3 separate regions of the Homo sapiens genome follow, and regions 2 and 3 are each linked to region 1. Evidence: promoter capture Hi-C in 16 types of primary human blood cells and fetal thymus (Javierre and others, 2016). All regions are on one chromosome and are shown on one strand. Each heading gives the region's core, a stretch centred on a gene start or on the middle of the fragment in contact. The rest is flanking DNA. Distances are from core to core; before and after follow the strand shown.

Region 1 (4,354 bases), core at 1,855-4,354:
CCCAGGACTCATGGCTCTGCTGTGCCTTCCATCCTGGGCTCCCTTCTCTCCTGTGACCTTAAGAACTTTGTCTGGTGGCTTTGCTGGAACATTGTCACTGTTTTCACTGTCATGCAGGGAGCCCAGCACTGTGGCCAGGATGGCAGAGACTTCCTTGTCATCATGGAGAAGTGCCAGCAGGGGACTGGGAAAAGCACTCTACCCAGACCTCACCTCCCTTCCTCCTTTTGCCCATGAACAAGATGCAGTGGCCCTAGGGGTTCCACTAGTGTCTGCTTTCCTTTATTATTGCACTGTGTGAGGTTTTTTTGTAAATCCTTGTATTCCTATTTTTTTTAAAGAAAAAAAAAAAACCTTAAGCTGCATTTGTTACTGAAATGATTAATGCACTGATGGGTCCTGAATTCACCTTGAGAAAGACCCAAAGGCCAGTCAGGGGGTGGGGGGAACTCAGCTAAATAGACCTAGTTACTGCCCTGCTAGGCCATGCTGTACTGTGAGCCCCTCCTCACTCTCTACCAACCCTAAACCCTGAGGACAGGGGAGGAACCCACAGCTTCCTTCTCCTGCCAGCTGCAGATGGTTTGCCTTGCCTTTCCACCCCCTAATTGTCAACCACAAAAATGAGAAATTCCTCTTCTAGCTCAGCCTTGAGTCCATTGCCAAATTTTCAGCACACCTGCCAGCAACTTGGGGGAATAAGCGAAGGTTTCCCTACAAGAGGGAAAGAAGGCAAAAACGGCACAGCTATCTCCAAACACATCTGAGTTCATTTCAAAAGTGACCAAGGGAATCTCCGCACAAAAGTGCAGATTGAGGAATTGTGATGGGTCATTCCCAAGAATCCCCCAAGGGGCATCCCAAATCCCTGAGGAGTAACAGCTGCAAACCTGGTCAGTTCTCAGTGAGAGCCAGCTCACTTATAGCTTTGCTGCTAGAACCTGTTGTGGCTGCATTTCCTGGTGGCCAGTGACAACTGTGTAACCAGAATAGCTGCATGGCGCTGACCCTTTGGCCGGAACTTGGTCTCTTGGCTCCCTCCTTGGCCACCCACCACCTCTCGCACAGCCCCTCTGTTTTTACACCAATAACAAGAATTAAGGGGGAAGCCCTGGCAGCTATACGTTTTCAACCAGACTCCTTTGCCGGGACCCAGCCCGCCACCCTGCTCGCCTCCGTCAAACCCCCGGCCAATGCAGTGAGCACCATGTAGCTCCCTTGATTTAAAAAAAATAAAAAATAAAAAAAAAAGGAAAAAAAAATACAACACACACACAAAAATAAAAAAAATATTCTAATGAATGTATCTTTCTAAAGGACTGACGTTCAATCAAATATCTGAAAATACTAAAGGTCAAAACCTTGTCAGATGTTAACTTCTAAGTTCGGTTTGGGATTTTTTTTTTTTAATAGAAATCAAGTTGTTTTTGTTTTTAAGGAAAAGCGGGTCATTGCAAAGGGCTGGGTGTAATTTTATGTTTCATTTCCTTCATTTTAAAGCAATACAAGGTTATGGAGCAGATGGTTTTGTGCCGAATCATGAATACTAGTCAAGTCACACACTCTGGAAACTTGCAACTTTTTGTTTGTTTTGGTTTTCAAATAAATATAAATATGATATATATAGGAACTAATATAGTAATGCACCATGTAACAAAGCCTAGTTCAGTCCATGGCTTTTAATTCTCTTAACACTATAGATAAGGATTGTGTTACAGTTGCTAGTAGCGGCAGGAAGATGTCAGGCTCACTTTCCTCTGATTCCCGAAATGGGGGGAACCTCTAACCATAAAGGAATGGTAGAACAGTCCATTCCTCGGATCAGAGAAAAATGCAGACATGGTGTCACCTGGATTTTTTTCTGCCCATGAATGTTGCCAGTCAGTACCTGTCCTCCTTGTTTCTCTATTTTTGGTTATGAATGTTGGGGTTACCACCTGCATTTAGGGGAAAATTGTGTTCTGTGCTTTCCTGGTATCTTGTTCCGAGGTACTCTAGTTCTGTCTTTCAACCAAGAAAATAGAATTGTGGTGTTTCTTTTATTGAACTTTTAACAGTCTCTTTAGTAAATACAGGTAGTTGAATAATTGTTTCAAGAGCTCAACAGATGACAAGCTTCTTTTCTAGAAATAAGACATTTTTTGACAACTTTATCATGTATAACAGATCTGTTTTTTTTCCTTGTGTTCTTCCAAGCTTCTGGTTAGAGAAAAAGAGAAAAAAAAAAAAGGAAAATGTGTCTAAAGTCCATCAGTGTTAACTCCCTGTGACAGGGATGAAGGAAAATACTTTAATAGTTCAAAAAATAATAATGCTGAAAGCTCTCTACGAAAGACTGAATGTAAAAGTAAAAAGTGTACATAGTTGTAAAAAAAAGGAGTTTTTAAACATGTTTATTTTCTATGCACTTTTTTTTATTTAAGTGATAGTTTAATTAATAAACATGTCAAGTTTATTGCTGCACATGGTTAAGCTTCCTTTTGGCTTTGGTTGGAGAGGGTGGAGAAAAGCGGGAGGGGCATGGCCTGTGACCTGGTCACAAAGTACCTTCCACAGTCCTTTACTTTAAGGTGGCATCACTAAATTATTCCCTGTAGCCCACCTTCAGGTCCACTCCACACTGGCTCTCTTGACTATTTTCTTCCTTTATTCATCAGTGATGTATGTTCAGGACCTAATTAATTGTGGATATGAGGCAGGGTCAAGAGGACAAAGGAACAGGGCCTTTACCTTCTACATAGCTCCCCTGTTTCATCCAAGGAGGTTAAGTATTGATTTTTATCGGTTTTCTCAACTGTGAATATAATAAACTGAAAGCATTTCAGGGAGAAGCTGGAGAACACCTTCTCTAGCTGCACTCCACCTTAAGGCTGAAGCTGGATTTGTTTACTGTTTCTCCTGGGGGCAGGGGCAGTTGAGAAATAACCAAGTAGTCTGCCAAGCCAGGGTCAACCCTCCAGGCCACAGGTTGAGCAAATGCTACAGCCATGGACAGGGAGACACTCCTCACGAAGGGGTGGTCCTCATCCTTTCAGATCAACTTCCTGCTGGAGGCTCCACCCTCACCACGTCCCTCCCTCTTCTCTCATCTGGAGTCACCTTTTGGGATTTTGGAGTTGAGCACCATGGGGACTCCAAATGATCAGGCAGTGCTGCAGGCCATCTTCAACCCTGACACCCCATTTGGAGACATTGTTGGATTGGACCTCGGAGAGGAAGCAGAAAAGGAAGAACGAGAAGAAGGTGGGCATTTGATCTGGAGTGTAGCTCTGCACATAGGCTGGCCTGCTGGCCTCCCGAGGTAGCAGAGAGGGAGGTGGTTTTATAAGGCCCCTTGTTCCATGATTATGATTGAGATTGGAATCAGAGAGGTTGGCTGCTCCTTAGCGCACTGATGGGGGTTTGGTAAGAGATGTCCTGCCAAGAGGAGTAAGCTGGGGTTTGTCTCTCGATCCATCAGCTCTCATGCCTCTGAACTTACCACTTAATTGACTGTATGATCCAAGCTTAACTGCCAGGTGATGTTAAACTCTCACATTTTTGTCATAACAGAGAATACCACCACCAGAACAGAAGACTGAAATAAGGCAGGGCATGGTTGCTCAGTTGAGTGGTTCCAATATAGCAAGCACAACCAGTAACCGTTAAACACTGTCACAAGCCAAGCTCCAAACTAACTCTTCCGCAGTGAGTGCGTTCACTGGCTTTTCCATTAATCCCTAATGAAGGAGTTTTTGATCCTTTGTTTCTAGAGGAGTAAAGCCTACACCTTACTAACTCAGGCCGAAACACAGAGGGATACGTCAGAAGTGATGTTCATGATCTGGGAATGTCATGGTGGCCTTTGCATAAGAGGCGGTGTAGTAGAGTAAAATGCAGACAGGAGCCAGAATGACCTGGGTTCAAATCCAAGCTCTGCAACGTATGGCCTGTTGAGGCCATACACAAAGAACTTGAGCAACTTCTTTAACAGATTGAGGAGTCTGGGCTTCATTCTCTTGGCAATGGGGAACCAACCAAGGCCCCTTCCCAGGTCTCTTGGAACTCAGGCAATGCTAGCTCCCAGCCTTAGTGACCTCATCTCCCCCTACCCCAAACACTGCAACTGACCCCTGCTGTGACCCATACCCAGTCAGCTCTGGCTCAGATCTCAGAATTCCAAAGCCTGAGGTGGCTTTTTCTTCTTGCTACCAACTGCACACCTGGCTTCTCCTGGCTCCTTCCCTGGCCCAGATGAAGTTTTCCCTCAAGCACAGCTGGAACAGTCCAAGGCCCTGGAGCTGCAGGGGGTGATGGCAGCAGAGGCTGGGGACCTCAGCACAGCCCTGGAGAGGTTTGGCCAAGCCATCTGCCT
Region 2 (5,043 bases), core at 1,553-4,052, 97 kb before region 1:
TTCTTTTTGCAGCTGAGCTTCCTGAAACAGTTTCCTACACATGTTCCTCCTTGCCTTCCCCATTTTCTTCTTAACCAAATGCCATCTGATTTAGACTTCACCTTTCCCCTACGCCTACTCTTCCTGGGAACACCTGTGACTTCCCTCTGACTATAACGAACACTTGCAGTCCTCTTGCTTCTTGACCTCTCTGCCACATTTGACATTGTTTACAGCTCCTCTGAAACATTCTCCTTTGCTTTCCTTCTTGCCCCCTTTTACCTTCCTGAGCTGCTTTCTCAGTCTCCTTTCATTGGCTACTTTTTATAGCCCATCACACAGACCTGGGTTTCTTCTGGTTCCAGTCTTAATGCCTTTGCCTCTGTGTGCTACACATACTCTTTTGTGTGGTCCATGCCCATAGTTTCAACTACCATCTCCATGCTTCCAAGTCCCAGATCTGTATTTTTAGCATTTTTTCCTGAGCCCCTGTCCAGTGTACCAACCTGCTTGTTAGACAGCTCCACCTGCAGATCTCACAGACATCTCAACTCAACTGTTCCAAAACCAAAGTCATCATCTCTAATTAAAAACATCTGCTTCCTCTTGTTCTCTTTAACTTACTTCGTGGTACCACCATCTGCCCTATTGACCCCATCTAGCAACCTGAGAAAAGCCCTTTTTCTTTATTTCCTGTATCTAAATGGACAACAAAAGTGATTCTATTTGCTAAATATCTCAGCAATCTGTCTTCATTCCTACATCTTCACTGTCACTGCATTCATTACCAATGATCTGGACTACTGCATATGGATATATGAGTCTGAACCCCTAGGAAGAGACCAGAAATATCCTAACTACATTTTCTGCCTCTATTATCACTACCAGCCTTATACTCAGCTGCCGAGGGATGTGGTACAAATTCTATCATGTCGGTTCCTGCTCAAAATTTTTCAAATGTTTCCTAACCTTTATAGAATAAAATTCAAACTCTTTAATATGCTCTGGCCAGTCATCTTCTGACACTTTCCCACATGTATCTTTTTTTTTTTTTTTTTTTTCCCAGACAAAGTCTCACTCAGTCTCCCAGGCTGGAGTGCAATGGTGTGGTCACGGCTCACTGCAGCCTCAACTTTCCAGGCTCAAGGGATCTTCCCACCTCAGCCTCCCAAGTAGCTAGGACTAGAGGCACATAACATCACATCCGGCTAATTTTTTCATTTATTTTTTGTAGAAACGAGGTCTCACTGTGTTTCCCAGGCTGCTTTTGAACTCCTAGGCTCAAGCGATCCGCCTGACTCAGCCTCCCAAAGTGCTGGGATTACAGGCATGAGCCACCTGCCCAGCCACCCACATATATCTTTTTTGTTGTTGTTGAGGCAGAATCTCAACCTCAGCTAACTGCAACCTCCGCCTCCTAGGTTCAAGCAATTGTCGTGGAGCTGGAATTACAGGCGTGCACCACCACACTCAGCTAATTTTTTTATTTTTAGTAGAGACATGGTTTCGCCATTTTGGCCAGGCTGGTCTCGAACTCTAGCCTCAGGTGATCTGCCCGCCTCGGCCTCCTAAAGTGCTGGGATTACCGTCGTGAGCCACTGCGCCCCGCCACATATCTTATGTTTAAATAATACCGAAGTACTCTTTGTTTCTCAAAAACCCCATGCCTTTTCCTGCTTCTGTGAAAGTTTTATGACGTAGCACCTTTGTATCTCCAGCTCTAACGTAGTACCTGGTACAAAGTAGGTGCTCAACAAATGCTTGTTGAATAAATAAAAGGACAAAAGAAAATCAGAAAGCACAAAGGTTGAAAGTAAGGACACTGACCAGAAGACTACTATGAGAGTACAATTTGGAGTAATCAGGAAGAGAAGGAAAGAAAATGCTTTAGTGTAACATTTCCTTCAAGCTTCTACAAGGTGAAACAATCATAATCAAATAATAATTACTCCTGTAATTAGTCTCTTTGAAAAATATGAACTTTTGTCATTGGTACAATTTCAAATGGGGACTGCTTAAGTGATTTGAAATAAAATGTTTCTTAAAAACACACACACACACACAAAAACCCAAACAGCCCAGGACATGACATGTAACTGCCAAAATCCTGACAAAACATGACCCTTTGGGTATAAATCCCAAGGTCCAAGAGTGCATCTGGGAAGAGTCATTTATTTTGCAAACATTAATTGGGTGGTATAGACACCGTTCAGCACAGGGGATAAAATGATAAGTAATACACGGTTTCCTGTCCTCAAAGAGCTCATGGTCCAAGAAGCATCTAGCCCTTGCCTTTGCGCAGAACTCTACTGAATTCTTTTCTTTTTTTTCGAAATGGAGTCTCACTCTGTCGCCAAGTCTAGAGTGCAGTGGTGTGATCGCAGCTCACTGCAACCTCTGCCTCCCAGGTTCAAGCGATTCTCCTGCCTGGGCCTCCCGAGTAGCTGGGACTACAGGCATTCGCCACCATGCCTGGCTAATTTTTGTATATTTAGTAGAGACAGGGTTTTGTCATGTTGGCCAGGCTGGTCTCGAACTCCTGACCTCTTTACAGAAAGCCAGATGCCTATGCTAGGGTTGTATTTAAAGTCCTTTTAGGCTGGGCACGGTGGCTTATGCTTATAATCCCAGCACTTTGGAAGCCGAAGCCGAACTCCTGACCCGCACTTAAGGTCGGGAGTTCGAGACCAGCCTGGTCAAGGTGGCGAAACCTTATCTCTACTAAAAGTACAAAAATTAAGGCTGGGTGCAGTGGCTCACACCTGTAATCCCAGCATTTTGGGAGGCTGGGATGGATGGATCACTTGAGGTCAGGAGTTCAAGACCAGCCTGGCCAACATGGTGAAACCCTGTCTCTACTAAAAATACAAAAATTAGCTGGGCTTGGTGACACACACCTGTAATCCCAGCTACTAGGGAGGCTGAGGTGGGAGAATTCCTTGAGCCCGGAAGGTGGAGGTTGCAGTGAACTGAGATCACGCCACTGCACTCCAGCCTGGATGACAGAGCGAGACTCTGTCTCAAAAAAAAAAAAAAAAAAAAAAGTACAAAAATTAGCCGGGTGTCGTGGTGGGCGCCTGTAATCCCAGCTACTCAGGAGGCTGAGGCTGGAGAATCGCTTGAACTCTGGGGCGGAGGTTGCAGTGAGCCGAGTTTGCACCACTGCACCCCAGCCTGGACGAGAGTGAGACTCTGTCTCAAACAAACAAAAAAGTCCTTTTAGTCATAGGAATAGCTATATATAATTTATTTTTTTGAGATGAAGTTTTGCTCTTGTTGCCCAGGCTGGAGTGCAATGACGCAGTCTCGACTCACCGCAACCTCTGCCTCCCGGGTTCAAGCGATTCTCCTGCCTCAGCCTCCCAAGTAGCTGGGATTACAGGCATGCGCCACCACGCCCAGCTAATTTTGTATTTTTAGTAGAGACAGGGTTTTCTCCATGTTGGCCGGGCTGGTTTCGAATTCCCAACCTCAGGTCACCCACCCACCTTGGCCTCCCAAAGTGCTGGGATTACAGGCGTGAGCCACCACGCCCGGCCAATATATATAATTTTTTTTTTTTAAAGCTCAGAAATGGAAATTCACGGATTCAGGGTAAAATGCAGCCATTGCTTCCTTAATTAGAAGAGTGTTTTTGTGGAAGAGTAATGGACTGTACCCTTTTTTCCCCAGAAAAAAAGCAGCACCTGAGGATTCTGAACAGTTCTCTGCTCAGTGATGATCAAGCCTTCCTTTGGACAAGCTTAAATAACTCAGCCACTGTTCTTTGTTGGAGGACTTTGGGACTACTGATGCAATGTGTCCACTTGGGGGCCCTTTGGAGAAAAAATTGCTAATTTCAGAGGGGCAGCCGCACCAGTGGTTAAGGAAATCCCTGGGGAGAAAATGTTTCTGTCTGGATTAGAGAGAAGACATCTTATTTACTCATTCAATCTTCATGATAATCTTGTGAAGCTATAATTAATATCCTTATTTTTGCAGATTAGGAAACTAAGACGTACTGAGGCTGGGTGCCTGGTTCAAGATCATATAGCTAACATTATTGGACATGCAAATCAAGCCCAGATTTGTGACTCTGAGCTGATGTTAATTCTGTCACAATATTGGTTCTCAAGATAAATCTTTCCAGGTGAGGGGGAAAGGGAATAAATATCTAGAAGTCCCCTTAAACAGAAGTAATTAATTCGTTTGCAGAAATTGGCAAAATTTGGGGTTCCCTTCTTAAAAGTTTCCTTCTGTCACTTGGAAAAAATTTAAAATATGTGCATTAGGTTGACAAAGATCAAAAAAGTTAAAAAAAAAACCCTTTTTGGAATGCTGTGGAGAAAGGAGCACTTTTATTTATCTATTATTTATTTTATTTTATTTTATTTTATTAATTAATTATTTTTTTTCTTTTTCTGAGACAAGGTCTCATCTCACTCTCTTGCCCAGGCTAGAGTGCAGTGGCCTGATCTCAGCTCACTGCAGCCTCAGCCACCTCAGCTCCACTAGCAGCTGGGACTACAGGCACATGCCAAGTTTCCCAGGCTGGTCTCAAACTCCTGAGCTCAAGATCCTCCCATCTCAGCCTCCCGAAGTCCTGGAATTATGAAAGAGGCACTCTTTTTTTCTTCTTCTTTTTTTTTTTTTTTTTTGAGACACTCTTCTCCGTCTTCCAGGTTAGAGTGCAGTGGGGTGATTTTGGCTCATTGCAACCTCCACCTCCCCGGTTCAAGTGATTCTGGTGCCTCAGCCTCCTGAGTAGCTAGGACTACAGGTGTGTGCCACCACGCCAGGCTAATTTTTCTATTTTTAGTAGAGACGGAGTTTTGCCATGTTGGCCAGGTTGATCTCGAACCCCTGACCTCAGGTGATTTGCCCACCTCTGCCTCCCAGAAGTGTTGGAATTACAGTCATGAGCCACTGCACCCAGCCAAAAGGCACTCTAGAACATTGCTGGTGGGAGTATGAATTAGCATAACCTTTACCGGGGACAACTTGGCACTGTCTATTAAAACTACAAATGTACATACCTTTTGACTCAGCAACTGCTCTTCTAGAAATCTATACTACAGATACATT
Region 3 (5,043 bases), core at 715-3,214, 81 kb before region 1:
CCATGAGGATTGACCACTTTTTAGATCAAACACAAACATTGTCCCTAGATTATTGCCTTTAATTATAAGCAGTAAAACCTTGTGGATAACATCTCTTTAAGCTTAGCTAATGAGGAAATCCTTTTGTAATCTCTTTGGCTAGGATTTTTTATTTGTGCATATATAAATACCTTTACAGAAGAAAGGGAGAATCTCATAATCTAATCTGTAGTGGTGTGAGATCGTTTAGCATAGTAATTAAGAGTTGTTAAGACCATGGGCTCTGGATTTAAACTGCCTGAGTTCAAATCTAAGCTCAGCCATCTTGAAAAAGTTTTTTTTGTGTTTTGTTTGGTTTGTTTGAGACAGGATCTTGCTTTGTTGCCTAGGCTAGAGTGTAATGGCACAAACATTTCATTTCAGCCTCAACCTCCAGGGCTCAAGCAATCCTCTTGTCTCAGCCTCCTAAGTAGCTGGGACTACAGGCATGCACCACCACACTCAGCTAATTGTTTTATTTGTTGTAGAGATGGGAGTCTCACCATGTTGCCCAGGTTGGTCTTGAACTCCTGGCCTCAAGTGGTCCCCCTACCTCAGCCTCCCAAAGTGTTGGGATTACAAATGTGAGGCACTGCACCCAACCAGAAAAGTTTTTGAACCTCTCCATACCTCTGTTTCTTCATTTGTAACTGAGAGGTACTCATGCTTCATAGTCTCATTGTGAGGCTTAAGTGAGATCATGCATGTAAGCACTTAGCATTTTGCCTGGCACATAGGAAGCCCTAATTGTTAGAACCAAGAGATTGAAAGGAGAGCAGGGTTATAATCTTTTTTTTTCATCAAAATAACTGGTTTTTATTACATTAAGTTATACCTGTATATGTATGCATACATACACCTATTTGAGTGCTATAATCTTAGAATGTTCTTGATATTAGTCTGAGTGTCAAGTTCTTCTATAAACTAGGTGGAACCAAATTGAAGGCCAGCCACCCGTCTTGGTAACAACATTAGTGTCCAACTAAAGCATATTAAAGATAAGGCAAAAAAGAAGAAAGAGAACAAGATGGTAAATAGGCAAGTAAGATACCGAGGAACACAGTGCCTCCATGAGTTGCTAATTATCAGGCCAAGGCAGCTATAATGGGGTTGCTACCTGTTGTCTCTATAACTAGTGTTCCTGATATTTTTATGAGGAGGCACTTGGTCGTTCCTTATAACAGCTCTGAGGCTCTTCAGGGTTCTTGGGCTCCAGGTTCAGACCCATTAGTCTATACTTGATGACATTTGTTCTTAAGTGTCAGCTTGAGGAGAATGAGTGCTGGTCTACAGAGATCAATGCAAGTAACCATTTAATTATAGAAGAAATGCTGAATTGTAGGTTGCAATTTCTGGGGGTTGGAACTTGAGCAGAATGGTCAAAAGCAGATTAGAGTTTAAGAATAACTAGTAAAGAGTAGTGTGTTTAAGGAGGAAAAGTACAGTTTTGGGTTGGGCGCAGTGGCTCACGCCTATAATCCCAGCACTTTGGGAGGCCAAGGCGGGAAGATTGCCTGAGGTCAGGAGTTCGAGACCAGCCTGGCTAACATGGTGAAACCCTGTCTCTACTAAAAATACAAAAATTAGCTGGGTGTGGTGGTTGCGCACCTGTATCCCCAGCTACTCGGGAGGCTGAGGCAGGAGAATCGCCTGAACCCAGGAGGTGGAGGTTGCAGTAAGCTGAGATTCCGCCACTACACTCCAGCCTGGGCGAAAGAGCAAGACTCTGTCTCCAAAAAAAAGAAAGAAAAAAAGAAAAGTACAGTTTTGCTGTACTCTCTTTAAAAAGATTTGCAGGCCGGGTGGGGTGGCTCAATCCTGTAATCCCAACACTTTGGAAGGCCGAGGCAGGCAGATCACTTGAGGTCAGGAGTTTGAGACCAGCCTGGCCAACATGGTGGAACCCTGTCTCTACTTAAAATACAATAATTAGCTACATGTCGTGGTGCACACCTGCAATCCCAGCTACTTGGGGGGCTGAGGCATGAGAATCGCTTGAACCCGGGAGGCAGAGGTTGCAGTGAGCTGAGATCACACCACTGCATTCCATCCTGGAGGATAGAGTGAGACTGTGTCTCAAAAGAAAGAAAAGAAAAGAAAAGAAAAGATTTGCTAACATACTCAGTACACCATCAGAAACCATCAATACACCTCAGAAACTGAGGCACAGACAAGTTAAACAGTTTTCCTTAAGTTATATGGCTAGTAAGTGGCAGGGCTAGAATTTAAATCTGAACCTACATCTGTTTGAAAGTTGATTCTTGCTCTCTACACTGTGCTGTCTTTAAGTCCTTTCTCTTCCCACTCACATCCAATCAATTTCTGAGTCTTGTCCATTATATTATTGTAGTGTTTCTTTCATTTGTCCCTGCTGTTCTGTTCCTGCTGTCCTAGTTTAAATTTCCATTACTTTTGGATAGTTTATTGTGGTAATCTTCTCATTGGTCTTCCCACCTATCTTTTCACCCTACACAGTGCTTCACAATATGATAGTTTTCTTAAATACAGATCAGAGTATGTCACTTTATTCCTAAAATTCTTTGGCTTCTCACTGAATATGAAATAAAATTTCAGATTCTCAGCGCTGCATGATCTTGCTAGCCTGTATTTCTAAATTTTGAACCGTGTCTCCTGAATGTACATCGTTACTGCTTCAACCACATTGGACTACTGAACTATTAGGTGTTCTCCACAGTCTTTGTTTATCTGCCTTTGTACCTTTGCTAAAGCCTCTCCTTTGCCTTAAAGTCTTTCCCATTTTGACCTGTCTTGGGCTTATTATTCGTCTCCCATGGTTCAACTCAGATCCCCAGATCCTAACTCTTCCATGAAGTTTTCACAGATTGTACTGCTAGTTGAAACTGAACTTCTTTCCTGTTTTCTTTTTGTGTTTTGTATGTTATCCTTAAAAAATTTAACCCCGTATACCTTATGTCGTGGTACTTTTGAAATGTGTCTGTCTTTGTCCCATTAGATAGTGACTCCCTTAAGACACGGGCCATTTCTAAGTCATCATTTATGTTTTATGTTTTTTATAATGGTGACTTTTTATATAGTATTTGTTGAATTGAAAATTTGATGTCCATACAACTTTTAGGAATACTTTGCTGGGACACATTACATAAACTAGGAGAACTTAAGACTACGAACAGAATATTTGGACTAATCATTAAGAAATACTAATTTAAGTATGGCAAAGGAAAGCACAGGTGCCATGATGCGACATTTTTGTAAAGGTATTGATTGGGGTTTTGAAAGCGATGTTAGGGTATCCTGATGGGATGGCATTATCTTTTATGTAGATAATACTTAGCACTGATCATCCCCTTACTTGAGTGTTGTTTCCATTTCTAGGTTCCTCAACTTAAAAGGGATGAGGAGACCTTGGAGACGGTTCTGAGGAGACTCAAAAGATGATTATATGATTGGAAGTCAGTCCTATGAGGAAAGGTTGAGAGAATGAAAGGTTAAGAGGCAACTTAATAACTCTTCAAAAAACATGAATGGATCCATTATTAGGAATGGTAACCAGCGGTTTCCCAGCTCCACTGACAGCAGAATAAGAGAAAATAGGTTTAAACCGAAATCAGGAGTAGTTGTGTAAAGAACTTATTGGTAATGATGGTTGTCATTACAGTCATGGTAAAAAGGTTACCAAAATAATTTTATTATCTTCTCTGGAAGTATATTTTAAAAGTACAGTCCTGCCTACATATGTATAAAATGACCTCTTAAGCTACCTTTTCCTTCTGTGAATCAGTAAATAAATTCTTATTCAGCTCCTCGAAGCAATAATTACTTTCCAGTAGGAAGCTTCCAGAGATATTTCTTTAGGAAGTAATGGTTTTTGTAGTGGCTTTATAGGAGAATACAAATTTTTAAGTGGAGCTAAGAGAGAAATCTTAAACATCAAGAGAAACCAAGGAAAACAGTAGGTGTGGTATCAATATAGGAAACAAATAAGTATTTGTAGCTTTTATGTCCATTTTCAGTTGTCATTTAAAGAGGTATAGTTCAGAATAGCTCTTGTTAAGGCTGTCACTGCTTGTGGATACATTGTAACAAATGCTTATAAATCATTTCCAAACTAATAGAAGTTTGCTTCATGTTAGTTAGTATTATAAAAGCCTCTGACCCTTGGCTTTTGAGGCTGTGTAGAGGGCTTGCATCACTCAGAATGAAACCTTTTTAGATATGTTGGGTTGCAGAAAGCATTTCCTGTACAGTCAGAATGAAAACTTGAATTGGGATTATTCATATAGATTACCAAAAGTCTGGGCAGAGCTGATATTACCACCAGCCAGTTTTCCTACTAACTCTTAACTCCAAAACCTTCATTGGGTTATTGAAGCTTTAGGACTTTTGAATTTCCTACTGGAATTGTGTATGAATTCCTTCTTTCAAGTGAACTGATACTAGATTTATTTAAGATTAGTTATACATCTTAAGTATTTTTTAAGTGGCATATAATGAATGGTCTCTACTTTTAACCAGTCTCATAAAATGCCTGGGGTTCATAGGTGAAGCTGGATTGTTGCAGGAATTCTGCAATTGTTGGCAAAGCGAAGGGCAGTTTGACTCCTTAATTATAAAGTTGGATGTCATTTGAGAAACTCTGGGAATTGGAAGTAGAACAAATTCATACTTTCCCTATAACTTTTAATTTCTTGTCATACATTCAGAAAACAAGAGATGTAAAATTCATAAAACTGCTTGTATAAATTCAGAAAACGGGATTATAAAAGCAAAGACAAATTGTCTTACGATTCTTTGTTCTACTTGAGAGATTCAAGTGTTGGAGTAATAAAAAATACCAGGGACTTTCTTTTTTTTAATAGGTTAATGCCACCTAATGTGGGCTTCTCAGAATGTGATGGCAAACTTCCAAATATGATGTGGGAGCCAAAAGAGACCAACTGGTTTTACAAAATATTAAGAACACAAAATTTCCCAACTCATATATTTGAATATTCCTAAAAAATAATAAGTCAAAATTGTGTTGGTGGGCTGGGCACAGTGGCTCAC

The links. The method cuts DNA at HindIII sites, captures the fragments that hold promoters and counts their contacts. A CHiCAGO score of 5 or more calls a contact.
Region 2: a fragment that was not itself captured here is called in contact with the fragment with the promoter of TTC36 in region 1 in 1 of 17 cell types (endothelial precursors); the score reaches 5.2 in endothelial precursors.
Region 3: a fragment that was not itself captured here is called in contact with the fragment with the promoter of TTC36 in region 1 in 1 of 17 cell types (endothelial precursors); the score reaches 5.5 in endothelial precursors.

The regions. Positions count from the first base shown.
Region 1 is chr11:118,524,370-118,528,723 of GRCh38, forward strand. It overlaps TTC36 (tetratricopeptide repeat domain 36), which reads left to right and starts at 3,105. Exons shown (of 3, transcript NM_001080441.4): 1 at 3,105-3,243; 2 at 4,234-4,354. The coding sequence starts at 3,126. KMT2A (lysine methyltransferase 2A) reads left to right here. Exons shown (of 36, transcript NM_001197104.2): 36 at 1-2,463. All of the region lies in intron 1 of TTC36-AS1 (TTC36 and KMT2A antisense RNA 1), which reads right to left. The HindIII fragment of the contact is 1,033 bases long and covers 2,472-3,504 here.
Region 2 is chr11:118,427,373-118,432,415 of GRCh38, forward strand. No RefSeq gene overlaps it. Among named protein-coding and RNA genes, the nearest start is that of KMT2A, 6.6 kb to the right of the region's middle. The HindIII fragment of the contact is 1,833 bases long and covers 1,887-3,719 here.
Region 3 is chr11:118,444,253-118,449,295 of GRCh38, forward strand. The region is part of intron 1 of KMT2A (lysine methyltransferase 2A); the gene reads left to right. Among named protein-coding and RNA genes, the nearest start is that of KMT2A, 10 kb to the left of the region's middle. The HindIII fragment of the contact is 3,730 bases long and covers 100-3,829 here.